Linked DNA regions of Homo sapiens: all the other regions are linked to region 1. Evidence: promoter capture Hi-C in 16 types of primary human blood cells and fetal thymus (Javierre and others, 2016). All regions are on one chromosome and are shown on one strand. The core of a region is centred on a gene start or on the middle of the fragment in contact, and the rest is flanking DNA. Distances in the headings are between cores, read along the strand shown.

Evidence for each region. Contacts are between HindIII fragments. The CHiCAGO score rates a contact against its expected background, and 5 or more counts as called.
Region 2: a fragment that was not itself captured here is called in contact with the fragment with the promoter of PLAC8L1 in region 1 in 1 of 17 cell types (neutrophils); the score reaches 5.9 in neutrophils.
Region 3: a contact is called between a fragment that was not itself captured here and the fragment with the promoter of PLAC8L1 in region 1, in 5 of 17 cell types (neutrophils, M0 macrophages, total B cells and 2 more). The highest score is 9.1, in neutrophils.
Region 4: a contact is called between a fragment that was not itself captured here and the fragment with the promoter of PLAC8L1 in region 1, in 5 of 17 cell types (M0 macrophages, M2 macrophages, total B cells and 2 more). The highest score is 7.8, in M0 macrophages.
Region 5: a contact is called between a fragment that was not itself captured here and the fragment with the promoter of PLAC8L1 in region 1, in 14 of 17 cell types (total B cells, naive B cells, naive CD8 T cells and 11 more). The highest score is 25.7, in total B cells.
Region 6: a contact is called between a fragment that was not itself captured here and the fragment with the promoter of PLAC8L1 in region 1, in 6 of 17 cell types (naive CD8 T cells, naive B cells, total B cells and 3 more). The highest score is 12.1, in naive CD8 T cells.
Region 7: a fragment that was not itself captured here is called in contact with the fragment with the promoter of PLAC8L1 in region 1 in 5 of 17 cell types (total B cells, naive CD8 T cells, naive B cells and 2 more); the score reaches 12.4 in total B cells.

Annotation. Positions count from the first base shown.
Region 1 is chr5:146,103,748-146,107,841 of GRCh38, reverse strand. PLAC8L1 (PLAC8 like 1) reads left to right here and starts at 2,265. Exons shown (of 4, transcript NM_001029869.3): 1 at 2,265-3,649. The coding sequence starts at 3,531. RefSeq lists a silencer at 3,970-4,094. The HindIII fragment of the contact is 7,482 bases long and covers 1-4,094 here.
Region 2 is chr5:144,119,131-144,123,224 of GRCh38, reverse strand. No RefSeq gene overlaps it. Among named protein-coding and RNA genes, the nearest start is that of YIPF5, 49 kb to the left of the region's middle. The HindIII fragment of the contact is 2,631 bases long and covers 848-3,478 here.
Region 3 is chr5:144,148,172-144,152,265 of GRCh38, reverse strand. No RefSeq gene overlaps it. Among named protein-coding and RNA genes, the nearest start is that of YIPF5, 20 kb to the left of the region's middle. The HindIII fragment of the contact is 2,557 bases long and covers 562-3,118 here.
Region 4 is chr5:144,191,140-144,195,233 of GRCh38, reverse strand. All of the region lies in intron 2 of KCTD16 (potassium channel tetramerization domain containing 16), which reads right to left. Among named protein-coding and RNA genes, the nearest start is that of KCTD16, 22 kb to the right of the region's middle. The HindIII fragment of the contact is 5,543 bases long and covers 1-4,094 here.
Region 5 is chr5:144,207,914-144,212,007 of GRCh38, reverse strand. All of the region lies in intron 3 of KCTD16 (potassium channel tetramerization domain containing 16), which reads right to left. Among named protein-coding and RNA genes, the nearest start is that of KCTD16, 39 kb to the right of the region's middle. The HindIII fragment of the contact is 2,086 bases long and covers 762-2,847 here.
Region 6 is chr5:144,224,986-144,229,079 of GRCh38, reverse strand. All of the region lies in intron 3 of KCTD16 (potassium channel tetramerization domain containing 16), which reads right to left. Among named protein-coding and RNA genes, the nearest start is that of KCTD16, 56 kb to the right of the region's middle. The HindIII fragment of the contact is 1,457 bases long and covers 1,705-3,161 here.
Region 7 is chr5:144,244,988-144,249,081 of GRCh38, reverse strand. The region is part of intron 3 of KCTD16 (potassium channel tetramerization domain containing 16); the gene reads right to left. Among named protein-coding and RNA genes, the nearest start is that of KCTD16, 76 kb to the right of the region's middle. The HindIII fragment of the contact is 1,116 bases long and covers 1,816-2,931 here.

The DNA of each region.
Region 1 (4,094 bases), core at 1,016-3,515:
GCCAGATGTGGTGGCTTGTGCTTGTAATCCCAGCCCCTTGGGAGGCTGGAGTGGGAGAGTTCAAGACCAGCCTGGGCAATATAGTGAGACCCTGTCTCTAAAAAAAAAATTTTTTTTTTCAAATTAGCCAGTTGTAGTGGTTCATACCTGTAGTCCCAGTTACTTGGGAGGCTGAGGCAGGTGGATCACTTGAGTCTAGGAGTTCAAGACTGCAGTGAGCTGTGATCATGCTCTTTAAAAAGAAAAAAATCTGCCAGGTGTGGTGGCTCACGCCTGTAATCCCAGCACTTTTGGAGGCCAAGGCAGGTGGATCACAAGGTCAGGAGATCAAGACCATCCTGGCTAACATGGTGAAACCCCATCTCTACTAAAAATACAAAAGAAATTAGCCGGGCGTGGTGGCGGGTGTCTATAGTCCCAGCTACTCGGGAGGCTGAGGCAGGAGAATGGTGTGAACCCGGGAGGCGGAGCTTGCAGTGAGCCGAGATCGCACCACTGCACTCCAGCCTGGGCGACAGAGCGAGACTCCATCACAAAAAAAAAAAAAAAAAAAAGAAAAAATCTTTTTTTCTCTTCCTTTTTCTTCCCTCCTTCCTCTTTTGCCCCTCTTCTTTCCTTGCTCATGTAATACTATTGTAAAGGTGTACCTTAGTTTATTCAACCAGTCTCCATGGATGGACATATAGGTTGTTTCTAAGTTTTTAATATTTTATAGAATGTGTATGGAATGATATAGTGAGTAACCTCATGAATAATGTCATTTCACTTTTGTGGAGGTATATCTTCAGAGTAAATTTGTAGAAGTGGGCTTGTGGGTCTGAGGGTAAATGCATATGTAGTTTTGTTAGCACGTATGTGGTCAAAAGCATTTTTTGCCCTGAGGCAGGGGCATGTAGCTGGTGTGCTGAAGGAATAGCAAGGAAGCCACATGAAGAAACAGGTCAAAGTCACTGGCTCAAGATCCTATGTATTAGCAGCAGAGTTGAATTAGAGCCCTGGCCTCCATCTTCATTGCACTTAGACAACAAAGAATTCGTGCATGGAAAACAGGAATGTATTTGACCAAGGCCAGTGTTACCAGGGCCATTAGGAGGTCAGAGAAAGGAGAAGTTTATATGGACCCCAGTCAGGTAGAAAATACTTCACCCCAAAATTTACAGCATCAATAAGATTTGTAATGGCCCTCTGCTGTGCATAGAGCTTGTATTAGTGTGTTTTCTTTTCTTTTTCTTTTTTTTTTTTTTGAGACAGAATCTTGCTCTGTCATCTAGACTGGAGTGCAGTCGAATGATCTTGGCTCACTGCAACCTCTGCCTTCCAGGTTCAAGCGATCCTCTTGCCTCAGCCTCCTGAGTAGCTGGGATTACAGTGCCTGCCACCACGCCTGGCTAATTTTTGTATTTTTAAGTAGAGATGGGGTTTCACCACGTTGGCCAGGCTGGTCTGAAACTCCTGACCTCAGATGATCTGCCCGTCTCAGCCTCCCAAAGTGCTGGGATTACAGGTGTGAGCCACTGCATCTGGCCTAGTGTGTTTTTATACTGCTATAAAAAACTACCTGAGACTGGGTAATTTATTTAAAAAAGAGTTTTAATTGACTCAGTTCCACAGGCTATACAGGAGGCATGGCTGGGGAGGCCTCAGGAACCTACAATCATGGAGGAAGGGTGAAGGGTAATGTTAAAGATACATTTTGATCACTTCTAGGACCTTCTGATGTAAAGGCATATTTGTTAAAATCACACCCAGAGCTTTTATTGTAAGGGTACTTTTTTTTTCTTACACTTTCAGAACTTTCCAATGTAAATATGCATTTTGAGTACTTCTGGAATTTTTCATAGTTAAGGTACATTTTCTCTTTTGCAATTAGAAATATGTGGAATAGTTATATTTTTGCACCTTGAGAATATTTGGTTCCTAATCTTTTTTATCTAATGGTTTTAATGCTTCTGAATTTCCTTCCTGATATGTTGTTATGCTGGGGCTATGCAAAATGGTGATATTCTAATGCTATTATTTCTTTTTCATAAATATTTGGCATTCTTTTATAAAGCACATGCCTTTTCTATTCTTTTCATTTTATTTTTAAATGAAAAAGCTGTGTAGCATGTGGATTAGTCACTTCATACAATAGACGTTTGATTAGAAAAGTTGGGCGCAAATGAAATGTAAAAATATGGAGTCATAGCTTATATGTACCATGGTGGTTTACTCTTCAAAGGAATCTTACTGTAAATCTTTTTTTTTTTTTTTTTTTTTTTTTGCAAAGCTAGTAATCACCTCTTAATTTCTGTTATTCTTATAAACCTGAATTTTCATGTAGGGCACATTTATTCAACAAATTATTGAGTGCTTTTTATGTGCCAGACACTGTGGTCAGCACTTGGAATAGAGTAGTAAGCAGAAAAAACATACCTGTCCTTAATGTAGGGTACATCCTTACTGTTAAGAAGACAATGACAGTTGCCCAGAACCCCATGATTGAAGGCAGTTATGAAGCTATGTCTGAGGAATCTTGATTTGGAAGGTATTATAGGCTTTTCCTAACAACCTGGTTCAATAAATGCTTTGAAGTTCAGAACCCTAAGCAACCATTCTCTATGGGTCTGATGAAAAGAATATATGATATAATTGGCAGTATCCTCCTGATGTCTTTCTAATGTAATGTCAAATTATGATTGCAGAGCCCTTTCCTCAACGTGAAATTTTGCCTAATTTTTTGTCTTAGGATATTTCCTAATATTTCTAGGGTCCACACCTCCATAAGACATGTGCCAGAGGCATGATTCAGAGGCTCCTGAGACCTTGAGGATTCAGAGCTGTTGTGAGGACATCACCAGGCAAGCCTTGCTTCAGTTACTAGATTCCGTCTGGACTGGGTAGGAAAGAAATGCCACTTTCCTGGCATTATCAATGAAGTTAATGGAAGAGCAGAGAATTTCTAGAAGTTCTGAAAAGGCTTTGAGGCTTGTGACAATCTACCATAGCTCAAACTTGAGGAGACCACCTTTCATAAGATGGATTCAAATACAATACCTGCGCTGAAAGACTTTTTTTTGCTCCTGCTTTTGGGTTGGCTATGGGACTTGCATCATCTGGCTGAATTGGACCAGCAGTTCAGGGGATGAAGAGAGGTCTCTGCTGCTTCTCAGTCACATGGCATGGCAGAAATTTTCAGCCTTCTGAATCTTCCAAGGAACGGTCAAGTGGCACTTAGCTAGATAAATGTTTACTAGAGGCATCTCTTAAAGAGTTTTCCACCAAAGATAAGTCTTTTTCTTCTATTTACTCTATACTCCAGCAATATCTCCCTACAGATTAGTAAGATGAATGTGTCCACAGTTAGGTGTATACCTGTTTTTAAAGAAAAAAGATGTCTGTTAGTTACACTGCTATGACCTCAGGTTCCAGAATATTAAGGGAACATTCTTTCAAGAGATGTTTCACTTTGGACTAATCCGAAGTTTAGAAACCAGCTTATTGCCAAAGGGAAAAAGGATAGCCCAAAGGACAAGAAAACACTTCTCACTATGAATTGGTTTGGAAGTAACTTCTTCAGGTGTCCTGAGGATCTTTCCTTACTCAACATATACTCACCTCTGTTGTCACACATGTCATCTGAAGATGAACATTTTATTTCCAACTTGAGGTAGGGAATAGGGTGAGTTTTTCCCCTAGCTTTTGCTCTTTAGTTGGACTATCGAATCAACCTCTACTTATAAGGAACCAGGGAAAAGAAAACTGGGCTTGGGAAGAAAGTGGTTGCTATCTTTTCTCCATGCAAACTTGAAAAGAGGGCAACTGATTTGTTCCTTCTGGCCTTTCTTGGCTGGTGACAAGAAAAGGGCTGGCTTGGGTGAAATGGTATCTCTTTATTCTTAAAATGTTGAACCCTGACCAAGTGGAACTTTATTTTTAGAGACTGCCAATCATTTCCACCCTTTTGAAATGAAAACTCAAGGGTTTTGGCTTCAGCTGAGTTTGAAATAATCAAGGAGGCCTAGGTACAAGGCAGAATGATTTCACAATACTCCAAGTGTGATTACGGAAGAGTGACATGTAACACCCCAGGCTGAAGAACCAGGCATGTGGGA
Region 2 (4,094 bases), core at 914-3,413, 2.0 Mb after region 1:
GAATGATTCATTTGAGTTAGAGGTTAATGAAAATAAAAATATAATTTTTCCTACCCAGTTCAAAGATCTTCAGATTCTACCCATCAACCCTTGCAATCTACAGGCTCTGTACTGTATAACTATTTCTTAGCCAACCAAAAGATTTAGTCTGAACGTTTTCAATACCTGCCAAACTCTGCTTGAGAGTTTGTGGAGATAGGTAGTACCTAAAATAATTGCCTTTTAACAAAGGGCCCAAAAGATCTAGTGATAGAGACAGAAGGCAGCCAAGGGTGCCCCGGTGAAACCCCACCTTCAAGCCTAAAATAGCAAGGCTGAAAAGCTGGACTGTGGTCCTAGATGAAGCCTGCCATTTCCCAGCGGATTCTTTTTGACTAATCCCCATCTGCACACTGGGAGGATGGGGTAGAGCCTCGGGAAGTGCACAGTGTTTCAGTGAGGAGGAGCCTGGCCTCTCCTGTCCCTGTATGGTGACCTGGGATTCAATCTGTGAGGTGGGAAACCTGCTAGAAGGACTCTCTCTCACTTTGCTGAGAGTTATTTTTCCTTTTTCCTTTTCACCCACTAAATTCCATTTTTCTCACCCTTCCATGTGTCCATGAGCCTAATCCTTCCTGGCTGTGTGACAAGAGCCCGGTTTTAGCTGAACTAAGGAGAAAGTTCTGCAACATTAGAGGTAATCAGGTCTGGACAGATCTCTCTGCAATGATTCTCGTCCTAGGCCATGAATTTGGGAGATCATAATCCTGAGCAAGTGTTGGAATACAGGTAGAAAAGTATGCAAATTGGCCAGGGCCTGATTTTTTTTTATAAAAAGTGATTCCCTGGCTTTGTAAGCTGATAAGCTTCTTAAAGATAAGGTGCAGTGTTGCCTGGTATCCTTAGGACAGTAGCTAGAAAATGGTAGAAGGCTGACAAATGCTATTAGGATGATTTAATGAATGAATGTAATCATGCAAAAATAATTGAAGTTCAGTCTGGGGCAAAGGGAGGGGTACCCAAGTGTAAATTCCTTATCAGTGAACTTGGCAAAAAGAAACAGCATGATTAATGTCAGCTATTCTTATTTTTGCGGTATAAAGCACTCTTTTTGTATTCTATTTTGTCTGGTACCCTTAAAAAATGGATGGAGCTTTCCAAGCCGCCTCTTTTTGTCTAGGGTTTGGATAGAGATTAGATAAGAATAAAAGGCACAATGTATATAAAGCACATAGCACAGGGGCTGGTAATAAGGAAATGATCAATAGCTACTATTATTAATTTTATCTAAGATAATAAATTTAATATTTGTTAGTATTAATATGATTATTAATATTAATCAAGGCAGTGAGTCAAACTTAGTAATGCATTAGAATCACAGGAAGAACATTCAAAAATACTTATTCTCCAAGAGCTCACTGAATCAGAATTTCTGGGGAAGGAGCCCAGAATCTGCTTTATGAAAAAATTAGCAAAGTATTTGAAAAGGAAGCCAAGAGTGAGAAATTAGAGCCCAGCAGGAAACTGAGTCATTATTACCCACCCATTAAAATATAATTTTAATGCAAACAGTGAGCACTTGTTAAGATTTGATTTTATGTATTCATGAGAGAAGCAGATGGATATCAAAGCTAGTTCCAAAGATGATATGAAAAATTGTGATTCGATAAGGAGTAGCAAAGAAAGTAAGTAATGCTGAGACAGTAATGCTCAATTTGTTACAAAACCAGGTAAGATCCTTTAGGATAATAAAAGCGTAACTAGATCAATGAATCCAGGACTTGGTTTTTTCAAAAAATTAATAAAATAGATAGACCACTATGCTAGCTAGACTAGTAAAGAAGAAAAGAAAGAAGATCCAAATAAAATCAATTAGAAATTACAAAGTGGATATTACCACTGACCCCACAGAAATGCAAATAACCATCAGATCCATAGCTTCAATGCACACAAACTAGAAAATTCAGAAAAAACAGATAAATTCCTCAAAACGTACATCCCCCCAAGACTGAACCAGGAAGAAATTGAATCCCTGAACAGACCAAAAACAAGCTCCCAAATTGAATGAGCAATAAATAGCCTACCAACAAAGGCCCAGCACCAGACCAATTCACAGCTGAATTCTACCAGATGCACAAAGAAGAGCTGGTACCATTCCTGCTGAAACTATTTGAAAAATATTGACGAGATGGGACTCCTTCCCAGCTCATTCTATGAGGCCAGCATCAGCCTGATACCAAAACCTGGCAGAAACACAACAGAAAAAGTAAACTTCAGGCCAATATCCTTGAAGAACGTCAATGCAAAAATTCTCAACAAAATACTTGCAAACTGAATCCAACAGCACATCAAAAAGTTTATCCACCATGATCAAGTAGGCTTTACCCATGGGATGTAAGGTTGGTTCAACATATGCAAGTCAATAAATGTGATTCATCATATAAGCAGAGCTAAGGACAAAAACCACATGATTATCTCAGTAGAAGAAAAGGCTTTTGATAAAATTCAGTATGCCTTCATGTTAAAAACCCTCAAGAACTAGGTATTGAAGGAACCAGCTGCAAAATACTAAGAGCCATCTATGACAAACCCACAGCCAACATCATACTGAATTGAAAAAAGCTGGAAGCATTCTCCTTGAAAACTAGCACAAGACAAGGATGCCTTCTCTCACCACTCCTCTTCAACATACTATTGGAAATCCTGGCCAGAGTAATCAGGCAAGAGAGAAAAACAACGGCATCTAAATATGAAGAGAGGAAGTCAAACTATCGCTATTTGCAGATGACATGATTCTATATCTAGAAAACCACATAGCATTGGTCTAAAAGCTCCTTAATCTGATGACTCCAGCGAAGTCTCAGGATCCATAATCCAAGTACAAAAATCATTAGCATTCCTGTACAACAACAGTCAAGCCAAGAGCCAAATCTGGAACACAATCCCATTCACAATTGCCACAAAAAGAATAAAATACGTAGGAATACAACTAACTAGGGAGGTGAAAGATCTCTACATTGATAACTACAAAACACTGCTCAAAGAAATCAGAGATGACACAAACAAATAGATAAAGAAATTCATGCTCATGGATAGGAAGAATCAATATCATTAAAATGGCCACACTGTCCAAAGCAATTTAAATATTCAGTGCTATTCCTATTAAACTACCATTGAGATTCTTCACAGAACTAGAAAAAACTACTTTAAAATTTATATGAAACCAAAAAAAAGCCCAAATAGCCAAGATAATCCTAAGCAAAAGAGCAAAGCTGGAGGCATCACACTACCTGATTTCAAACTATACTACAAGGCTACAATAACCCAAACAGCATGGTACTGGTACAAAAACAGACACATAGACCAATGAAACAGAATACAGAACCCAGAGATAAGGCTATAAACCTACAACTATCTGATCTTTGACAAAGCTAACTTGAATTCTAGATAGTAAAGTCATTCTCTCCTGGAGGGGGGTGAAGCTGCAAGCCATAAAGCTTGGTTAATGTCAACAATCATATTTCTGCTATGTGTCTTAGTAGAACAGAAGCCTCCTTAGAATCAGCTTGTGCCTTGCAGTTGTTCATAATGGAACAACTACAAGATATAAATACCCCACCCAAACCCCAATGCTGACTGCACCAAACTGCTTAACTTTAGCACATGCTAGGCTAGATCAAAACAAAACAAGAACTCCTTCTTGTAAGGCTGAAAAATGGAAAGGCCAGAGAGGGTGAAGGGGACAGGAAACCTCTCCTGCCACAATAAGAGCAGAGATTGAATGAAGAGTCCCCTTATTTGAAGAGTAGTGCAGTGGTCTCAACTTCTCTCCTGCCATGTTTCTGACAGCATTGAACTCAAGGCCCAATCATAACCCTCCAGGGATTCTCTATTTATCTAAAAGGAGAAATAGCTGTAGTACACACCTTTTGAAGTACACACTTGGTTCACAATTATTCCCTTAATTGTCCTGCTGTCCAAAAGAACCATGACTGTCCCCATGACTCTATCCCATGCCCACAGACACAGTTGAGTAGATGAGGAGTAAGCACTGTACGAGGGGAGAACACGTCCTCTCAGGCCTGAAACTCATCCAGGCAGAGGAAGCCCTGCCT
Region 3 (4,094 bases), core at 591-3,090, 2.0 Mb after region 1:
AGGCTGATAGTGCTCTATTTGCTGACACTGCTCCAAAAATCATTTTATACACATCGACAATTAAGCTATTCTGATCAGAATAGAGCCTATGAATTTGAACAGTTAGAGAGCTGTAAAAAGCAAGCAGTTTATCAGGATTTTAAAGAAGAACACTATAGCTAATGCCTAGGGTATGGCTTCTATCCCTACCTCTGTCTCTATCCTTTTGATGTCTCACCCTTCTGTTTATATCTCTTCCTTCCCTTTGATCTTTAATTGACTCTAATCTAGAAATAAGATGTATTTGTAGCATTTGTTGTGCCTTTCAAAGTTTTGTCTATTCTCAGTTTTTGGTCAAAAAAAGTAAAAGAATATTTCATCTTCAAGTGATGGGAAAAATAATATCAAATATATATTTGCAAGTATAGGGGGAGAAATAAGTCCCCTGCTTGAGATTTTCCTGGTTTAGGAACTTGGAAAATGTTTTCCACCCTTGTTCTATGAGTTTTCCCAATGAAGTTCCAAGCCATTAAGTGCCCACCATGAACAAAGCCCTGCTTTTGGCTTCCTCCTTAGCAAGCTTAATATTCTCTACTTCGATGTTTTGTTTTTTGTTTTTTTTCCGCCCCATAACTTATTTTCTTTTTCTAATTGCCTTTGGATTAATCTCTAAATCCCTTCCGAATTCTTCATGTCTTTCTTTAATTGTATAGTCCAGATCAGGAAAATGCATGTTTCATGTATCTAATCATGAGTGTGTAAAGGTGACCTCACATCTTTTTCTTTTTTTTTTTTTTTTTTTTTGACAGGCTCTTGCTCTGTTGCCTCGGCTGGAGTGCAGTGGTGCATTCATGGCTTACTGCAGCCTTGACCTTTCGGGCTGAAGTCCTCCCTCCTCAGCCTGCCGAGTAGCTAGGACCACAGGCACACGCTACCACCACACTTGGAATTTTTTTTACATATTTTTGTAGAGACAGAGTATCACTATGTTGCTGAGGCTAGTCTTGAACTCCTGGGCTCAAGCAGTCCTCCCACCTTAGCCTCCCAATATGCTGGAATTACAGGAATGAGCCACTGTGCCCAACCATCTATTTCTTTTCATGTAACTAAGTGACACATTTCTTGCATACTTTTGAACTGACAGTGGTAAATACATATCTTAGTGCTCACCCTGTTATGGGTAAAAAACTTGGTAAGATTTTGAATAAGTAATTTTTGTGCCTTAATTTTCTCTATATAAAATGAAGAAATTGTATTAGATTCTTTAAAGCATTTCAATTCTGAAATTCTACAATTTCTGAGATGGTGATAAGATTTTAGCCATATTAAAAAGAGAATAAATACTGACATGGTAAAGTTTTCCCTGAATATATTTTAATTTTATCAGGAAGTATATATAGTATACCATCTTTGTAAAACAAAAAGAACTTTACATATTTGTGTGTGTGTGTGCATGTGTGTACACACACACTTGCCACCTGGGACAAATATTTTACTAAATGAGAGAATTAATGAATTTATAGATGCTGTTTTCAAACTTCTTGATTGGAAGAAGTTTTAACTATACCTTAGAAAGAAAATGTAATTTTGCTACAATGACGCTTAATGTAATTTTGACTTTTAAATATTTTGTCCTTGGCTGGGTGTAATGATTCACACCTGTTATCCCAGCAATTTGAGAGGCCATGTGCTTCAGCCCAGGAGTTCGAGACCAGCCTGTAATATAGTAAGACCCTGTCTCTACAAAAATAAAAATATTAGTCAGGCATGGTGGTGTACACCTATAGACCCAGCTACTTGGGAAGCTGAGGTGGGAGGATCACTTGAGCATAAGAGGTTGAGACTGCAGTGAGCCATAATCACACTGTACTCCAGCCTGGGCGACAGAGGGAGACCCTGGCTCAATCAATAAACAAATAAAATGTTGTCCTTCCAGTCTAATTGCATTGAAAAATATAGCTATTACCCAGGCATATCACCCATAGTTCAGAGTTTGATATTCTACCATTAGATTAATTTTTTTTCTTTTTGGTTCATCAGTGCCTCTCTCAATCTTGTAGGTACCTGATTCACTCTAAAGTACCAAGGACGTTCATCTCTATTAGCACTAGCCTCCTGGGGTGTAACGTGACTCTTCACAAAAAGTCCAGTAACCATTTCCTTAGTTCAATAACTAATACATCTTTGAGAAATTGAAAGCTGCACTACTCTTGAAGAAAGCAATTGTGTTCATTTCAGCAACATGGAAAGTCCAGGAAAAACTAGTATGACTCTCCAAAGGCAATGCTTATAAAGGAGAGGGAGACTTTATGTTGTTTATTAATAGATTTGATTTTTATATTTATCATAAGATGTAATATATGCAATAAGATAAAAAGTATAATAGCATGTCCCTTGCATTTAGAGTGAAATGTGAAAACAATATTAAATCTATCTAAAACACCCTGCATATTCTTTAATTACATCCCATATCTTCCCCTCAGAGATTACTAGTTTATCATTTTGAGCATTTCTTTATATTTTTACTAGGTATGTATCTATTCTTAAAAATTGTAGTATTACTTGGCATGTTTTTGACTTTTATATAAATGATACAATGCTGTGCTTTTCTTCTGTAACTTGCTTTTTTTACTCCTAAGTTTCTGCAGTTCAGTTATGTGAGTACTTGGTGACGCTCTGTTTACTGGTCTGTATTATACCATGAGTATATCATCACGCATTGATCCATTTTTCTGCTAATAGACATTATGTTTGTCTCCAGTCTTGCTTTTACAAACAATGGTCTGTAAGCAGTGTATCTACCGTGTGTGCAAGGGTTTCTTTGGGTATCTACATAGGGTTGAAGTGTTACATTTGTATGGGTTTGTGTCTTTTTGCCTTATCCCATAGTCATAAAAGCAGTCTCAATAGTTCTTCTAAAGATTTTAAAGTTTTGCTTTTCACATTTAAAACTTTTTAGCCCCTTGTTATATGGAGAAGAAATCAATTTCTGGTGTTTTCCCCCATAATGCATAGCCAATTGTTCCAGCACCATTTATTTTATGGTCTCTCCAGGATAGGTACTGTTAAGCTAACCATAAAGCATTTTTCTAGGTTAGTCCTGAAAAAATGAAACCTTTTCTCTCCGTTAAGGAAAGCTTTTCTCTCCTTTATCTCTTTAAAAAATTGTCTGTATTTTTCTTCCTCCTCTAGCCTCAGTCTCTCTGCTTTTACCTTAATGGTATCTGCTTTATTAATGGAAAAGATACATGACTTAGAAGAAGTAGTATCTCAGGACAGTGTGACTCCCTATATCCTAAACCAGGGGTCAGCAAACTTTTTCTGTATCAGGCTAGATAATAAATATTTTAGGCTTTACTGGCCAAGAGGCAAAATCAAGGATATTATGTATAATATCTATACATGTAAAATAGGTGTTATAGATGTAAAATGCATATTATATATAAGAAAGAACAAATTTCCACAAAATTTTTATTGAAAAAATTAAAAATATAGTAATTTAGTATAATTTTTTATAATGCAGGTCTACTAATGTGTAGAATGGAGTTATTTCTGGTTCTCTAATTTGTCTCCTCCCTACCTGATGAGGTAAATATCGTTAATATTTATTTTCATTCATAAGGAAAATGAAGTTCACACAGTTACCCTGTGGGTAAACGTTGGAACCATCATTTGAGCCTTACTCCAGAGCTTGTGCTCTGGATCTTGATACAATTTTCAGAAGAGAATTAATATTGTCTTATTTTAATGATAAATAAATTGAAGCTCTAAGAGGTTAATTCAATTGGACAAGGTAATACAGATTGCTGTAGGACCACATCTGTCTGATTTCAAAGCCTCATGCTCTTTCCCTTCTACTCTGCTACTATAAGACTTCCGGGAATCTCCAAACCATGGATAATAGCTGCAATGACAAATCAGGTCCAAGTTGTCCTACCATTTTAATTGAAATATTTTAATACAAAAACCAACAGCTTTTTTACTTGTAGCTGTAAAAGTTATAAATAGTCATACTAAAAACTACTGAAGGATATTTGGTGAAAGACAAAAGTGAAAATTATTAATTCTCTGTTCTCTCTTCTATACGGTCACTCCTTATTTCTCTCTTTTCTTTC
Region 4 (4,094 bases), core at 760-3,259, 1.9 Mb after region 1:
ATCAATGTAGTTAATGTGATAATTTCCAGGAAGAGATTCCCCCATGCTAACAGGGTATGCCTATAGTTTAACAATTGGGGGATGGTGGTAGAGGAGGATTTCAAGCACTATTTCTATTTCAGATACACAGGGAGTCCTGTAATTAAGGATATCCTGAGGGTCTGGGGAAGCTGACGGTGTAAGCAACAGTTCTTTAAGGCAAGTGTGTGACACAAAGGAAATCTAATAAAAGAACAAGTTACTTTTGATCAGCACAAAATGACAACATTGAAGGATTTGTGGTCACCTTTCATTACTGCAAATAAAATTTTCCTTAAGTTCACCTAGTATTCACAAATTCATAGTATTCACAAAAAATACCAAAACACAATTTAAGTACTAAAAATGATTATTTCTTGCACAGAGAAGCAATAGAGCATCATGGTTAAAAGGGTGGGCTTTGGGATCAGAGAGTCCTGGGGTCGAATCCCACCTCCATTGTTTACCAGCTGAAAAAGTTACATACATCTGAGCCACAGTTTTCTCATCTGTACAACAGGGGTAATAATTGTACTTCCCATACAGAGTTTTGTGAGAACTAAATAAATAATGCATGTTAAATGCTTAGTGCACTAACTGGCCCATAGTAAATGCTCAACAAATGTATCATTTGCTATTACAAACACATTGCTTCGTGTCTTTTTAAAAATGAATTCTCTCCTTCCCCAAACTGTTCTAATTATTAGCTCCACAAGAGCTCAGGGTAGAGCCACATCACTAACATTGACCAATCCTTACTCTGGACCCCTTACAGATGTGAAGGGAAGGAAACAGAGCAATCATATAAATCTCCCTTGAGGATGCAGAGCCTCCTACTGAGAGGTGGTTTGGATAAGTCAAAGAGCACCATACGGCAGTGTTGTAATGTTTCCCGCATGGATAACACATTTTCTACTTGACAAGTTATCAGTGTCACCATCTCTGGCCCCATAAGCTCCAGAGCTTGTTCCTCATTTGTTAGATGTCACTTGTCCCAGCATGGTGCTTTATATACAAGGATATCTGAGTGAAAGTCTGCACATTTTTAATGTTCTCTTCTTTCTTCCTAAATATTCCCCCTTGTTGACTAATTCAGTCTCGGTGAACCATCTTCACTGTATGCAAATGACTGTAACACCTAAATGCTTGGCCTTGCTTTCTTCTCAACTTCCATACACCTGCTGGGCATTTTTACAGAGATCTACCAGCACCTTACACTCGAGTCCTAAGCTAAATATCTGTTTTCCACTCTCATCTTTTTCATTTCTCCAAGTTCTCCTTCTGTGTTAAGAGCATCACAGGTTTCTCAGTCCAAGTGAAAATCCATCATCTGATCCCTCCCTTTCCATTGGCACCCAACACTCAATAATTAAGTCTACCCACTTTCTCTACTATACTTCTTTCAGATATCTCTTCTCTTCGCTTCCATTTGTCGTACCTTTGTTCTTTGCCTTTTACCCAAATTTGACTAAGAAATAATTATGGAGCCATGAGCCAGGCACAACACTAAGCTATAAGCTCTATGTGTTGGGGATCCAGAAATGAATAAAGTAGACCAGCTCTTTGCCATCATGGAACTTCCATTATAGGCCAGACACACAGATCATAAACAAATAAACAAATAAATGAGCAAGATCATTTCATATAGTGAAATGAGCTATGAATAAAATAGAATAGGTAATATTTAAAAAATCTTGTTTGGGGCAAGGAGAAGAGGATTGATACTGCAGGCTGAGACTCTGGGGAGGGGAGCCAGCTATGTGAAATGCTGGGAACAGTGTGCTCTAGGCAGGTGGAATGGAAACAGCAAAGGCTCAGCTGTCTGAGGTGAAACTAAGCTCGGCTTGTTCAAGGAACCAAGAAAGCCAGCAAGTTGGATCCCAATGAGCAAGGGTGAGAGTGCAGGTCTGAGAAGTAGGCAGGGACCAAACCACAGATTTCATTCTATGTGTTATGGGAAGTCATTGGGAATTTAAAGTTAGAAGTGACATGTTCTGGTTTGCTTACTTTTTAAAAGGTGACTTTGGCTGATATGGGGATAACAGATTGTCAGGGAAACAAAATTAGTTGTAGGGAGATCAGTGGGGAGAATTTACAGGGATTTAGTGATATATGATGATGTCTCAGACCAGAGTGAAGTAGAATACATGAGGAAAAGCTAGCAAGGATTTTGGGGGTACAGGTGGTGGTATTTCTATATGGACCTGTTAATGTTCTTCCTCCTTTCAAGTTTTTACATCTCAGTTCATTTGACACAAAGCTAACAGTGTCCTCTTTCTAAAGATGCCATTATTTGCCCAGATATCTTAATTGGCTCACCACTGCTCATAGAATAAACTCCAAAGTCCTTGGTGTATATTCAAAGCTCTCTGCTATCTGGCCTCACCTTCTTTAGAGTTCCATACAAATGGGCTGATAAGGAAAGGGAAAAAAATGGTTACAGAGACATTCAAAAGTTCTGAGATAAATCATTTCAAAAATAGTGATATTCATAGAAAGTGGTGCTGGTTTTTGATATGTGAAGGACCAGCATTCACAGCTCTTCAACTGCTCTTAAAATCTGAAAGGTTCTGTCATAAATGAAAAAGCCACAGTGCCTCAACCAGTGGCTTGCTTTAACTTCCAAGGGAAGAAATAGGAAAGCTCTAGGAACTAGAAGAAATCATGTAACCCCTTAGAACACAAATAAATAGATGAATTAATTGATTTTGTTACAATCCTTCGCTTTATTCGTTCCCTGGTCTAAAATCTCCCATTATAATGCAATTAAGTGAAACCTCATGACAAAATGTAATGATTAAGCAAACTATAAAAAGGCAGAACTTGATAGAATGAAATCGTGTATCACATTGAACATATGATTTCCTTTCTCTTCTGCCTTAAGTAAGCATTTCTTAGAAATCAAAAATTCATGTCAAGATCATCAAAGCCGACTTGAGACGTCATCAGGATTAACAATCTAGAGTAACAGAAGGGGGCAGTGTTATCACAGTCTCTTGCATCAACCTGAAACCTTGAAGAAGAGAAACTGAAAGTCACCCTGAGTAACACTGTTCACTTACCCAGCATCCTCAACTGAGTCCCAATTTCAATTACTAATTTCTTTCCACTTGTGAAGTCTTAAGCTCCCAAAGTCAGCAATGAGATGCCCCCTTTGGTCCACCAACTTGACATACCCTGCCAAGCCCTATAAGAAACTGATCCCTTCTCACTGTAGCCTCAAGAAATGCAAGCCTGTCTCTACATTTACCTTCATTATTAATTATTCTGCCTTTTACAGCATGAATGGTGAAAGAAATTCACTTGTATTGACCATATAAGAAAAATACTTTATATTTAACATGTTATCAGAAAAGGCCTAAAGTTTATTTGTACTGCTGAAAAAAAAAAAAATGGAAATACGCAGCTCCATGCAGAAGCACTGCCGCAAACACTCACTGTTAGCCTGAGATGCATAGAAAAACAGGGAACTGTCTCGGCTGTTGAGATAATTTAGCAGACAAGTCTAGAGAGAGATAAGTGGAGGCAAAAGCTGGTAAACACCCCCAAAGAGGAGGTGAGATTTCTTAAAGAAATCTGAGGAAGGATAACTCAGCCAGCTGTCTTCAGGGCTTAGGGAGGGAGGATGAGAGGAATGAGAGGAAATATCATGACTAGACAGAGTTGCTATTGCACTTTGAAGGACAGGTGGAACCTAGAAAACAGAAGCTAAAGGTTCTATGTAGAAGGGAAAAGTGGTTGAAAAAATATGTGTGTAAGTGTGTCAGGGGGTATATGGAGGGGAGCAGCAGTTGGGAAAAGAACAGTCAATTATCCAGTTTGGCTGGAGCAAAAGGCACCAGTGAAAGAACAGTGGAGGAGTTTGAACTTAATTCTGTAAACACTAAGTAGTCATTGTGAGTTTTTGAGCAGAAATGACAGAAACAAGTTTCTCAACGACCACCACTTCTACAGAGTAACTCAGAACTCATCTACCCTCTCCCCAGCATCCCTTTGCTCACTTATCAGGGAGGACTTCCACCAATGATTCCCATTCAATGTCCCCACTGACAGGTGTGGCTTTGACATTAAAGCAA
Region 5 (4,094 bases), core at 555-3,054, 1.9 Mb after region 1:
ATACCCCTGGGGAAGGTAACATCATGCCTTGAAAGCATTCTAAATATAATGACAGAGCAGAATTTTTCCTGATGAGCTTTGATTATGGCATGGGAGAAAGAACTGGAGAGCAGACATGACTCAAACAGAAGGAAAGAGGAGCAGCTAAGGTGAGACAACAGAAGGAAGTCACAGAGAGAGATGCTGGTAGTGTAAGGACCAAACATCACATACCTTATGATTTTGGCCACTCTGCTATCCCTGATGTTTCACTTTGAATGTGCCAATACCATATCTCTATAGGTAATAAAAATTGAAATTATTACAGGTTGAATATCCCTTACTCAAAATGCCTGAACTGGACATGTTTCAGATTTTGGATTTTTTCAGATTTTATGATATTTGCATATATGTAATGACATATCTTAGGGCTAAGACTCAAGTTTGAACATGCAATTCATTTATGTTTTATATGCACATTATACACATAGCCTAATGTAATTGTATACAATAGTTTTAATAATTTGGGACATGAAACAAAGTTTGTGTTGAGTACTTATATGTGGAATTTTCCACTTGTGGCATCATGCTGGTGCTCAAGAAGTCCTGGATTTTGAATCATTTTGGACATGGAATTTTTGAAGTAGGGATGCTCAACCTGTACTGGTATCTTTCAAGTAGCCAGGAGAAAAAAAAGGCTAGAATAATCTTAGGGTAGATGCATTTCCACCTGTTTTCTTATGAAGGCACATGCTCTTATTGAAGCTTGTTAAAGTCAAGCTTAGCTAAATTATTCACAGTGGCCAAAGCATATATTTCTCCCCAATACGAGGTCACACAGCTGAATTATAAATGGAAGATAATTTCTTGATCTACTTTTTTCCAACAGCCTATCTTAATCAATAATCCTGAAGATATATACTGCATCTAAAAGGTAATTTAGAGACTTCTGTGGAAGCAACTCTAAATTTTAGGAAAATAAGTAAAGAGAAGAAAGGTTAAAATGCACTTACAAGCTGCAATTTGTTGAAAAGATGATGAATCAGTGTGTCTGTTTCCATAATTCATAGAATTCAGAGTGTATGTTTTCAGAATAAGTGTCCTATGAATTAACCTCCCTAAGTGTGGTCACGTTATCACAGCTTTATTAGAGGCAAATGCCTTTAAATCTTAGTGCTTTCAGGCATTTGGCTGAAGTAACTCACTCATGAGTAGGCTTATGGAAATGTGCATAATTCTCTCCAACCAAGAACAATCTTCCCACTCTCTCAGGCATCAGAAGATGGCTCTGGAAATAAAGGTTCATTTATTTCCATGCACCTGTCATTTGGTTCCTAAGTGATGTGAATTGTTATTGAGTATCTAGTTCAAAATCAGGACTTGTCTTTTGCAGATTACATAGTTCTCATTTTATTTAGAGGTGAATCAAGAAGGCATTTTCTGATATTTATGACCTCACCTTCCACATAATGCTTGAAAAGTAATTATTCAGTCAGTTGGTTGGGAAAGTAGTAAAGAAACCTTCTTATTGTTTTAAATTAAAGCAAAGGACATGTCTAAAATACTTTGTAAGGCAATCCCTAGGGTAGACGTTTCTTTTCTATGTTCCTCTATCACTCATATTAACTCTTTTAGTTGCATATAAGTGAATCATAATCCATAGCATTTCACCTGTATTTTGGTGTGTGAGTGATGTAGACAAACACATTTCTTACCTGCCTCTTAAGCACATACAAATACCTGTTGACTTTTTCATTGTTCATAGTTCTACACTAACAAAACACACACTGAAAACCACCTGATATTGACCATCAACTCTAGGTCCACATGAAAATTTAAATGAGGTAAGAATCTAACTTATTCATGGTTGATAGGTAGATTTCGGTCTCCCCAATTTTTCTTGGAAGACTCAGAAGAAAAAATAGGCAAACAGGGAAACAAGAAGTCTCTCCCCATGATTATGAACCATCATGCTATGCACTAATTTCTTGCTGTTTATTTTTTACTGAGATATTGATCCATGCAAAGTGACTCTGCCTTATTCCTGTGTTATTAAAAAAGACTGATTGCTTAAATTGTTAATTCCTTAGATCTAAGGAGCTTGTATATATATATATATACATATATATACACACACATATATATACATACATACACACATATATATGTGTATATATATACACATATAAATATATATATATTTATATATATACACACATATAAATATATATATATATATATTTCCCCCTAAGCCCAGGAGGAAGTTGAGTTCCTTTGTGAAAAGCATCTTTGCATGCAGCCAACTCCCTTCTTTAGAGCATCTCCCATGGTTTCGTCCCATTAACCCGAGCACAACAGCTTGATGAATTAATGCTTATATAGGCACAGTTGGCAGCTTCTAATTAAATAATTATGGCTAAGCAGCTGCACGGAAGCTGTTATGCACCCTAGAAAGCCAGCTGTCAGTTTTATTGGTCCTAAGACAGAGGAAGAGTTAACACTTAGCTCTAGATGGTGGGTACAAAGGGGAAGTATATCATTTGCAAGATATATGCTGCTGGTATGAAGTTCCTGTGCATTTGTGCTAGCCTGTCCATGGAGAGATGGAGAACAAACTGTTCCTCAGCAATCTCTCAGCAATTCAACAAAGAAAGAAGAAACGACATAGTCAGGAGAATGGAGCCTGTCCAGATAAATCTAAAGGGAAATCGTGTTGGACAGATGAGCCTTTGATGAACACAGAAATGCCACTGGTAGACAAATAAATTTCAGTGTGTGGGTCTCATTTATGTAAGCAAGTGACTATAAATCCAATGTGGTCTTTTTGGAGGGTATAACTGGTATGTTTCCATTTATTTGGTTGAAGCTTCTTACGATGCTATGTTTTCAAATATTCAAAATCGGAGAACATGGTAAATATTACAAAGCTGCATTGGAACTATCTTTAAGATGTACTTCTCCAAAAAGTTTGGAGAAGATATTTCTGCTTCAGAATTATAGATAATGTCATATTCCTTTATAGAAAGCTAAAAAGCCGGAATCTTATCTCTACACTAGTGGGAAATTTACCAAAAGGAAGAAGACAATACCTGTCCACTAAGCTCTAGCATAAAGAAAGATATAGATTGTAGATAAAGGCCACAGATAGGATTAATGAACCAAATGATGTTTGTTATCGCACATCAATATACTCCTGAACTGATTACTGATTTCGTTTTTTTCCACAGGTTGTTCTGGCTATGCAATACATGTGTCTTAACCAAATGTGTGATAGCTTAGTAGAGAATGACTTGGCTTCCCACTAGCCTCTCTACCAAGGTTCCCGGCACCATTGCCAAATGATTAAACATAACTAAGGAAAAAAACCAGTCCAAGAAATTCAGTCCTACTTTTATGTTTAAAGAAATTTAGATATTTTAATCCTGAATTCTGGATTTGTTTTAGAATAAGAATAGAGGAAATCAAATGTTAACACTGGAAACATATTTCTTGTGGAATTTACTTCACCCAACTCCTGGGCCTGTTGAAAATCGGCAGTTAAAATCAAGTACCAAAGAGTGCAGGCTGATTTACTCTTTTCCTTTCAGGGATCAATGGCTCACAGTTTATAGTTTAGAATAATGCCATATCATAAAATGAGGAATCTGCAGGGTATCTTCATTTAAGCAAATGAACTGACCTCTAAGAACCCCTTACTTAAAAGGCTTCAGTATCATTGTTTCATTTCTTCCCTCTCTGGCTTCCTTTTATGTCAGTAATTCTACCACCTCAGCTGTCTGAAGGTGTTTAAATGTGATTGACAATTCTGAAGGATCTAGTTCCTTTTACATAGATCTTAAATGAAGTTCAGCTTAATTAAGTCTGCAGTGCAACTCAGGTCTCAGTACAAAAGGCTTCAGAATCAAACAGCAGATTTGTAAAACCCTTAAAAGCAAAATTTAGACTTGGGGGGAGCAGGGGGCCTTTCAGCAGTCTGTACTGCCATCTAGCCAAGACCACATTATTCATTGCAACATCCATTTGTGTTTTCAAAGCCCCTGATGAAAGCAAGTCTTCAGCAACCAGCTTAATAGACCTCAAAGTCCAGCTAAATGAATAGACAGCAGTAATTCACC
Region 6 (4,094 bases), core at 1,184-3,683, 1.9 Mb after region 1:
GGAATGATCTCACTTCACATTCATGGCCATTTGTTTCAAGTGAGTCCTTCAGTGCCACTGGTCAATAATACATTTCCCTAGTTTATTCACTCTCCCACAGTCCTGGACTACTATTTTATATGGTCTTCTCTCTTCAAACTTCAAATACTTCCTTCCTCATATATGTACGTATGCATGTACACATATTACTACATGTACTATATTACTATACGTAGGTACTATATGTACATATTACTATATGTACTGTATCGGCTACATATCTATTCAATATTCATAGATCCTGTCATGATAGATGAACTGACAAGGCTCATAACAAATTCTTTATGCACTCAATCTCATTCCTTCTTACTTATCCAAGGATATCACTTCAGCTACCTCCCACTTATCTCCTGAATTGTTGACTTTTTTCTCTAACCACTGAATTCTTCTTATAAAAATACAAGCATGCTGTTTTTTTCTAATGTCTAAAAAAATTCTCTTTTTCTCTCACTTTCTGTTCTACCACCTAATTTCTATATTTCACTTTTTAGCAAAACTTCTTGAAAGTTCTGTCTGTACTCACTTTTCCTAGTTCCTCTGCTACGATTCCTCTGAAATACATTCCAATGAGGCTTTTGCCCTCAGCAGTTCATCGAAACTGCTGCTGTCAAAGTTATCAATGACCTCCACATTGGTATATCCAATAGCCATTACTCTCAATTTGCAAAGAATTTACTCTTTCAGCAGTATGTGACTCAGTTAATTATTCCCTCCCACTTGAAGCATTTTTATTTTCACCTGGCTTCCAGGACACCCCACTTTCCTGGTTCTCTTCCTACTTCATTGGCCACTCCTTCTGAGTCTCCTTTGTAGGTTCCTCTTCAACTCCCAGGTCTTAACACTTGAGTGCTTAGACCTCCATTCTCGGACCTACTCTCTTTTCTTACTGCATTACTTCCTTAGTATTGTCATTCAGTCTCAGATTTAAATACATTCTACATGGTGATGACTCCCAGCTTTATATCTTAAGCCTGAACTCTGCCCTACAATCACAGACCCATATGTCTAACTCCTATTATTCACATGAATGTCTAACAAGCATCTCCAAGCTAACATGTCCAGATTTTGAATTCCTAATATTACCTCTAAAAAAGGCAATCTTTCCTCAGGTTTCTTTATCTTGATTAGCAGTAACTCCATTCTTCCAAATTGCTTAAGCTAAAATTCTTGAAGTCATCCTCAACACTGTTCTTTTGCTCATACAACACACCCATGCCATCAGCATATTCTGATGCCTCTACCTTCAAAATATATTCAGAAACTGACCATTCTCACCATTTCCACTCCTATCGACCTTCTCTGAGCCATCCACTCCTCTCAACTGGATTATTCCGATAGTTGTCTAATTGATTGCCACACTTCTTCCCTTGGTTTCATCAGTCTGTTCTCAAAATAGCAGCCAAGGTTGAATACAACAGCAGCTTGTTAAAATATATGTCAAATTTCTGACATCATTTGGCAGGCAGCTTTTAAAAATAGGCCAAATCTTGTCACTTACCTGCTGAAAACCCAACAATGGCTGCCCATGTCAGCAGAGTCAGAGTCAAAGTCCTTACAAAGACCTATAAATCCCTACAGAATCTGGCTCCCTTTTATCTCTGTAATCTCATTTTCTCCCAGCCTCTTCCTCCCTTACCAGTTCCAGCTACACTACCCTTCTAAGCTTCTTCTCCAATAGACCCAGCACTCTCCAACCTCAGGACCTTGATATGTGCTTTTCCCTCTGCCTGTCAGATTCCCCATAGTTTGAAAGTTCATCTTCTACAAGCCTTTATTTAAATATCACTGCCTCAGTGAAGACATGCCTGTCTTCCACCTAAAATTCCAACACACATCCCTAAACCCAGCCTGCTTCATTCTCCATAGTGTTTATCTACATATCCTTGTGACATAATTTATATTTTGTTTATTTATGCTGTTTATTATCCATCTCTCCAGACACATGTATACATACACATCCTAGGATATAAGCTCCTTGAAGGCAGACAGCTATGTGTGTTTTATTCAGTGCTGACTCCTCAATGCCTAGAACACTGTTTGGCATATAGTAGCTGTTTAATAAAAATAGTTAAATAAATTAATAATGCATAAAACCCTTAGCATAAAGCCTGGAAAAAATACACCACCCTCAAATGTTGGCTATTATGTATTCATAAAGAAATAGATTTGGCCAGGCGCAGTGTCTCACACCTGTAATCCCAGCATTTTGGGAGGCCAAGGCGGGCAGATCACCTGAGGTCAGGAGTTTGAGACCAGCCTGACCAACATGGCGAAATCCCATCTCAACTAAAAATACAAAAATTAGCTTGGTGTGGTGGCACATGCCTGTAATCCCAGCTACTTGGGTGGCTGAGGTGGGAAGATTGCTTGAAGCTGGGAGGCAGAGGTCGCAGTGAGCCAAGACGATGCCACTGCACTTCAGCCTGGGTAATAGACTGAGACCCTGTCAAAAAAAAAAAAGACATATTTTTTTTTCTCAAAGTCAAACATAGAATCACTTCAGGTTCAATTTTACGGTGAACAACTGAAGAAACAATAAGATCAATTTTATTTAATGAACTCATACTTACTATATTCCACAGATTGTTCTAAATCTTTTAAAAATATTACCTCATGGATAGGAAAACTCTGTAGTCTATGGATAACCCAGTGTAACTTAGCAATTAAAAAGCATGTATAGTCTTTGGTATCAGACAGACTTGACTGGAGTCTGAATCCTGATTTTATTATTTACTAGCTATGATCTTTGGTAAGAATCTTCCTAGGTCTCAGTCTTCTTATCTGTAAAATAGGGGAAATAATCCCTACCTCCTAATCATTCTAATGAGAAATCTTAGTGCTCTAAAGAGAAAACATCACAACATCTGCAAAGCACTTACCACAGTATCTGCTGGGTGACTTGCACTCAATCAGAGGCATCTATAGTTCATTGCAGAGAAAGGTAAACAGTTAAGTGGAGAAAAACAAAAACCATAAGAGATAAGGAAAAGCAAAAGTGTATACTTCCCTGTCTCTAGGGTTTTAGGATTTTCATCAAGATTCAGAAGAAAAAGGAGTTGAGAAAGGCAATTGGTTTTTAAATAAAGAATAAGTTTTTCTTTCTAGTTTTTTGGTTGCAAGCTTGCTGCTATAATAGCTAGGCTTCTAAAGTAATGGAAAGCTGTTATTAACATGAAATACTTACAACAAAATTATGTTCCCAAATAACTCTCCCCAAATGCAAAACTAGGCAAGCTACTAAAAAAGAAGCTCATTGTCTGAATATTTTATGATTTAAACAGAGTTTCAGGTTAGTCATAGGTTTCATGCTTAAATGTACCCTTTCTCTAGGCAAATGCCTGCTAGGGCACTAAGATTAATCTTGTTTAAGACTACTTCACTCATATTAGTCTTGCTACTGATTCTAGAGCCAGAAACTCTAACATGACTTCTTAGTTTTAAAGACACACACACACACACACACACACACACACACACACACACACACAATTTATTTTTGCTTAGGTATGTGGTGGAGCAGAGGAAGAAAATGATAAATTCTTCCTATTCTGTTTCGAATTCTTTTGACATCTTTTTTGTACTATGAAATTCTGTGCCTTTTCATATCCGTGGTACCTAGGAAATCAAATTCTTAAAAATAATGCTGTGTAGGAGTCACTGGGAGAAGAGATTGTATCCCAGAAGTTCTGTGTGGGTAACTGAGGACAGATTGTCAGATTTCGGCCCAATCTGGTTCAATTTCTTAAAAGCTGTATCATGAGAAAATTGTGTTCATAAAACTTGAAATTTGAAGAGGAAAAGAAGAAAAAAAATCAGCCATGTTAAGCACCTTCTCCCATCCACACACCCCACTAGAGGCTTTATGTGGGCTTCTCATTTTATCTTGTGAGGCGGCTCCCTTGAATAGCTCTGTTTTGGCAGTTCGAAAAAGATAGCATTGCCATCTGGTATTTCTGTGGTATGGCATGATGGTGAAGAATGCCAGAATTCGGGTCAGGGCAATTGGGGTTTGAATTCTGCTTCATTGGTCTATCCTTACCCCCATTCTTAATATG
Region 7 (4,094 bases), core at 1,124-3,623, 1.9 Mb after region 1:
GATATGTAGTAAAGAATTTGTATTTTATTCTAAATGAAGAGGGAAGCCATTGGATAGCTTTAAGGAGAGAGTGACTCGATCTGATTTCCAAGATCAGGATCTTTGCTGAGACCAAGTAAAGAGGCAGAGTCTTTGTTATATTAGCACCTTGAGTTTTTATTTTAAGAGAAGCAGGAAATATTTACCTTTGAAAGATTCTTCCATGGTGGAAACGAATAGGCATGTCAAACTCAACATGTCCCAAACTAAGATTTCTCTCCAACCCTACTGCCCCCACAGCCTTCCCTCTTTCAGAAATAGTCATGATAGGCTTCTAGTTTTCAGAACAAAAACCACAATGTCATCCGTGACACATCCAATTCATCAGCAAAGCCAGAGGCTGTTTCTCACCTTCTTCATTCCTATTATCATGGCTTCAAGTAGTACTCATTCCCTGCCTAAATGGTTGGAATGGCCTCCTAATGGGTCTCCCTGTTCCCAACCACATCTCTCGACAGTCTATTTTCAAAAGAGCAGCCAGAGGGAGCCTGTTAAAATGAAAGTCAGATAATATTCTTTCTTGTCCAAATCTTCTATTGTTCTCCCATCTTAGAGACAAAATCAAATTCCTCACAATGTCCTACGAGACTGGACAGTATTTAGTTCACTTGCTTCACTGTCCACAGTTCCTGCCAGTTTGTTTCATCCACACCGGCCTTCTTGGTGTTCCTTGAACACTCATGCCCATGAGCCAGCTCAGATCTTTGATTTTCCTGGTTCTTCTGCACTAAACACATTCTCCAGATATCCATAAAGCTTTCTTTCTTTGCCTCTTTCAAGATTTTACTGAAATTGCCTCTTCTCAATGACATCATCCTTGTAACTCTCTCTTAAATGGCACTACTGCCCCCTACTCTCCCTTTCTCAAGTCTCTGCCTCCAAGGGGCTTACTTCCTTCTCCCGTACTGTATATTTTGATTATTTATCTGACACATTGTTTAATTCCCCAAAATGGAAAGAAAGCTCCATAAGGGCAAGGTTATCTGTCTCAGTCATTGCCACATTCCCAGTGCTACATAAAAGAAGCTCAATAAATATTTATGACATAAATGAAGAATCTGAAATCACATGCCTCCTCCTAACGTCAGAGTCACTGAGCATGGAAAATAGCCCAGGACCTGCTCATCAGGTGTTGCTTGCAGGGAAGAACAGTGGACAGACAAGATGGTGGGAAAATTAGAGAAGTAGGAGGAAGTCCTGAGAGAGAAGACACCGTTGGACACCCATTGAAAACAATGACTTAGAGGGAAAATTAAGAAATAGTCTACAACATCTTCTAGGCTTTAAGTGTGTTCATAATCAGCAGTATTGGTTGGTTTACTTTTCTGGTAATGTATTACATAAAAATTACCCTGTAAAGTAGGTAATAATAATAATCATGATCATGGTATTAATTACTATAATTTATTGAAAACTGTTCCAGTTGCTACCAACACTTACCTACCCCACAACCAGCTTCAAACAACTATTTTATCATATTCACAGATTTTATGGGCCAGAAATTCAGACAGCACAGTGGGAATAGTTTATCTGTGCTCCCATGTTTGGAGCCACAGCTGGAAAGACTTGATTGCTGGGAACTAAAATCATCTATAGGTCTCTCCCCTCACACAACTGGCAGCTAATGCAGGCTGGTGGCTGGGATCTCAACAGAAGCTGTTGACAGAGCCTCCCAGTAGTCTCTCTGTGTGCCTGAGTTGCCTCAGGGTGATCAGATTTCTTACATGACAGCTCAGGGCCCCCAGAGGAAGTGTTTCAGTAAACAAAGCAGAAGCTTCAATGTCTTTCATTACCCAGTCTTGGAAGTCATAGTCATCATTTCCATCATACTCTGTGGTCAAAGCAGTCACAAGTCACAGAGAAGAAATAATCCCTATCTTTGAATATTAGGGTAGCTGGTCATGTAAAAGAGTGTATGGGATGGGAGCTATTGCAACCACCATCATTGAAAAACATAATCCCACAGAAACTAGAATAAGTGCTTTACCTAATAAACTAAGTTAATTCTCACAATACCCCTGAGAAATGCCATTATCTTGAATTTACAGTAAAAGGAACATGAACTGCAAAAGGCTAAATGATTTGCTCAAGATCACACTGTTGACAGGTGTTGCTGAGAGCCAAACCAATGTATAACTGACTCCAAAGTTCATGCTCTCCCTGATACATCTTCTCCATGGCTAGAGGAGGCAAGAAAGAACATGATGTGGGAGTTGGAGGAATGACACAGAAATCAGAGGGCCTGAAAAGGGGAGACGATGATGACAAGGACGATGACAATGATGAAGAAGAAGGAGGAGGAGGAGAAGGAGATCAATAAAGGCTTGATTTTAATGATTATGGTACCTTGTCAATGTTGGCACCTTGTCAATGATGGTACCTTGTCAATGTTAAATTATCATTTGGTGATTTGTTGTGTTTTACTTGAGGTGATATGGAGATAGGGTACACAATACCCTATATCCAGTTTCTCCTAAGTTAACACACAACAAGTATTTAAAACTTTAATTTAAAAATTACATGCCATAAAAGTTCTATATTAATTATTTTATTCTATTAGATTTTAAACAGAATGAAACAAGATATTCTATTGTTTGGATATTCCCAATATTTTGTCCCCTAAATAAATGTTTATCAGATGTAACTCAAAGCCAGATTTCCCTTATTTGTATCCTAATGGCTTCTGCAAAATAGCCACCATTTATTGAGCAAATGGACATAGCCTGATAATTTTTTAATGTTACCTGGAATTATATTCAGTGCTTTTTTGATAATGCACTCCCAAACAAAAACTTACAAGCCCCACTCTGGATTGAAGAGTTCACATTAAATTACTCTTCCCTATAAACATAATGATAGAAAAGTGGAGACTCAGCTGACTAATATGAAGCTTGATGAAGACCAACTCTCTGCCCAAACATCAGCTGATCTCTGTGATGCAGCATCCTTACTCATAACATCATTGCCCTGTACACCTCAAGAGTGCTCACTGACTGTCCTTAGGATAAAGACCACAATTCTTACCATAGCCCAAAAAGCCCTGTAGTGTCTGAATCTCAATGCCATCTTGTGTCCCCATGTTAGTCCATTCTTACATTGCTATAAAGAGATAGCTGAGACTGGGTAATTTATAAAGAAAAAAGGTTTAATTGGCCCATGGTTCTGCAGGCTTCATAGGAAGCATGGCAGCATTTGCTTCTGGGGAGGCCTCAGGGAATTTACAGTCATGGCAGAAGGTGAAGGGGGAGCCAGCACTTCACGTGGCCAAAGCAGGATGAAGAGAGAGGAGGGGGAAGTACTACACACTTTTAAACAACCAGATGTCATGAGAACTCACTATTGCAACAACCGCTCCAAGGGGGATGATGTTAAACCATGAGAAACAGCCTCCATGATCCAATCACCTCCCACCAGACCTGACCTCCAAGATTGGGGATTACAGTTGAACATGAGATTTGGATGGGGACACAGATCCAAACCACATCAGCCCCACTTCCTCTTTGTCCTCTGCTTTCCTCCCATTCTGGACCCTTTTGAGTTCTTCAGACATGTCATTCTTCTTCCTCCCTCAAGACTTTTGCAGATTTTAGTCCTTTTGCCTGGAATACTCTTATTTCCTCCATGTGTCTTGTTAACTCCTATACTTAAAGTCGCACCGCAACCATAACTTCCTTGCGGATGTTTTCCTTGACTTCTCTGATGAGGTTAAACCCTCTATTCCCTCATTATACACTCTTATATTAAAATAGTCTTCTCTTTCAAAGTATCTACCACAGTTGTATCTTTCCATTTATTAGTTTGATTCTTTGATTAATTTTTATCTCCCTTCTAGACTGTATGCTTCTTTAAGACAAAGATTGTGTGTGTATTTTCTCCCTAATCCTCATCACCCAGCACAATAGCAGGTCCATTGAAGATATTTAGTAATTATTTGTCAAATAAATAAATAAATGTACAATGGAATAAACAAAACATACAGTTTAAATTTCTGAGGGTCATGATCAGCTTGTAATAGAATATTGATCATTGTCTTCTCATATCTGGAGCTTTCTAAT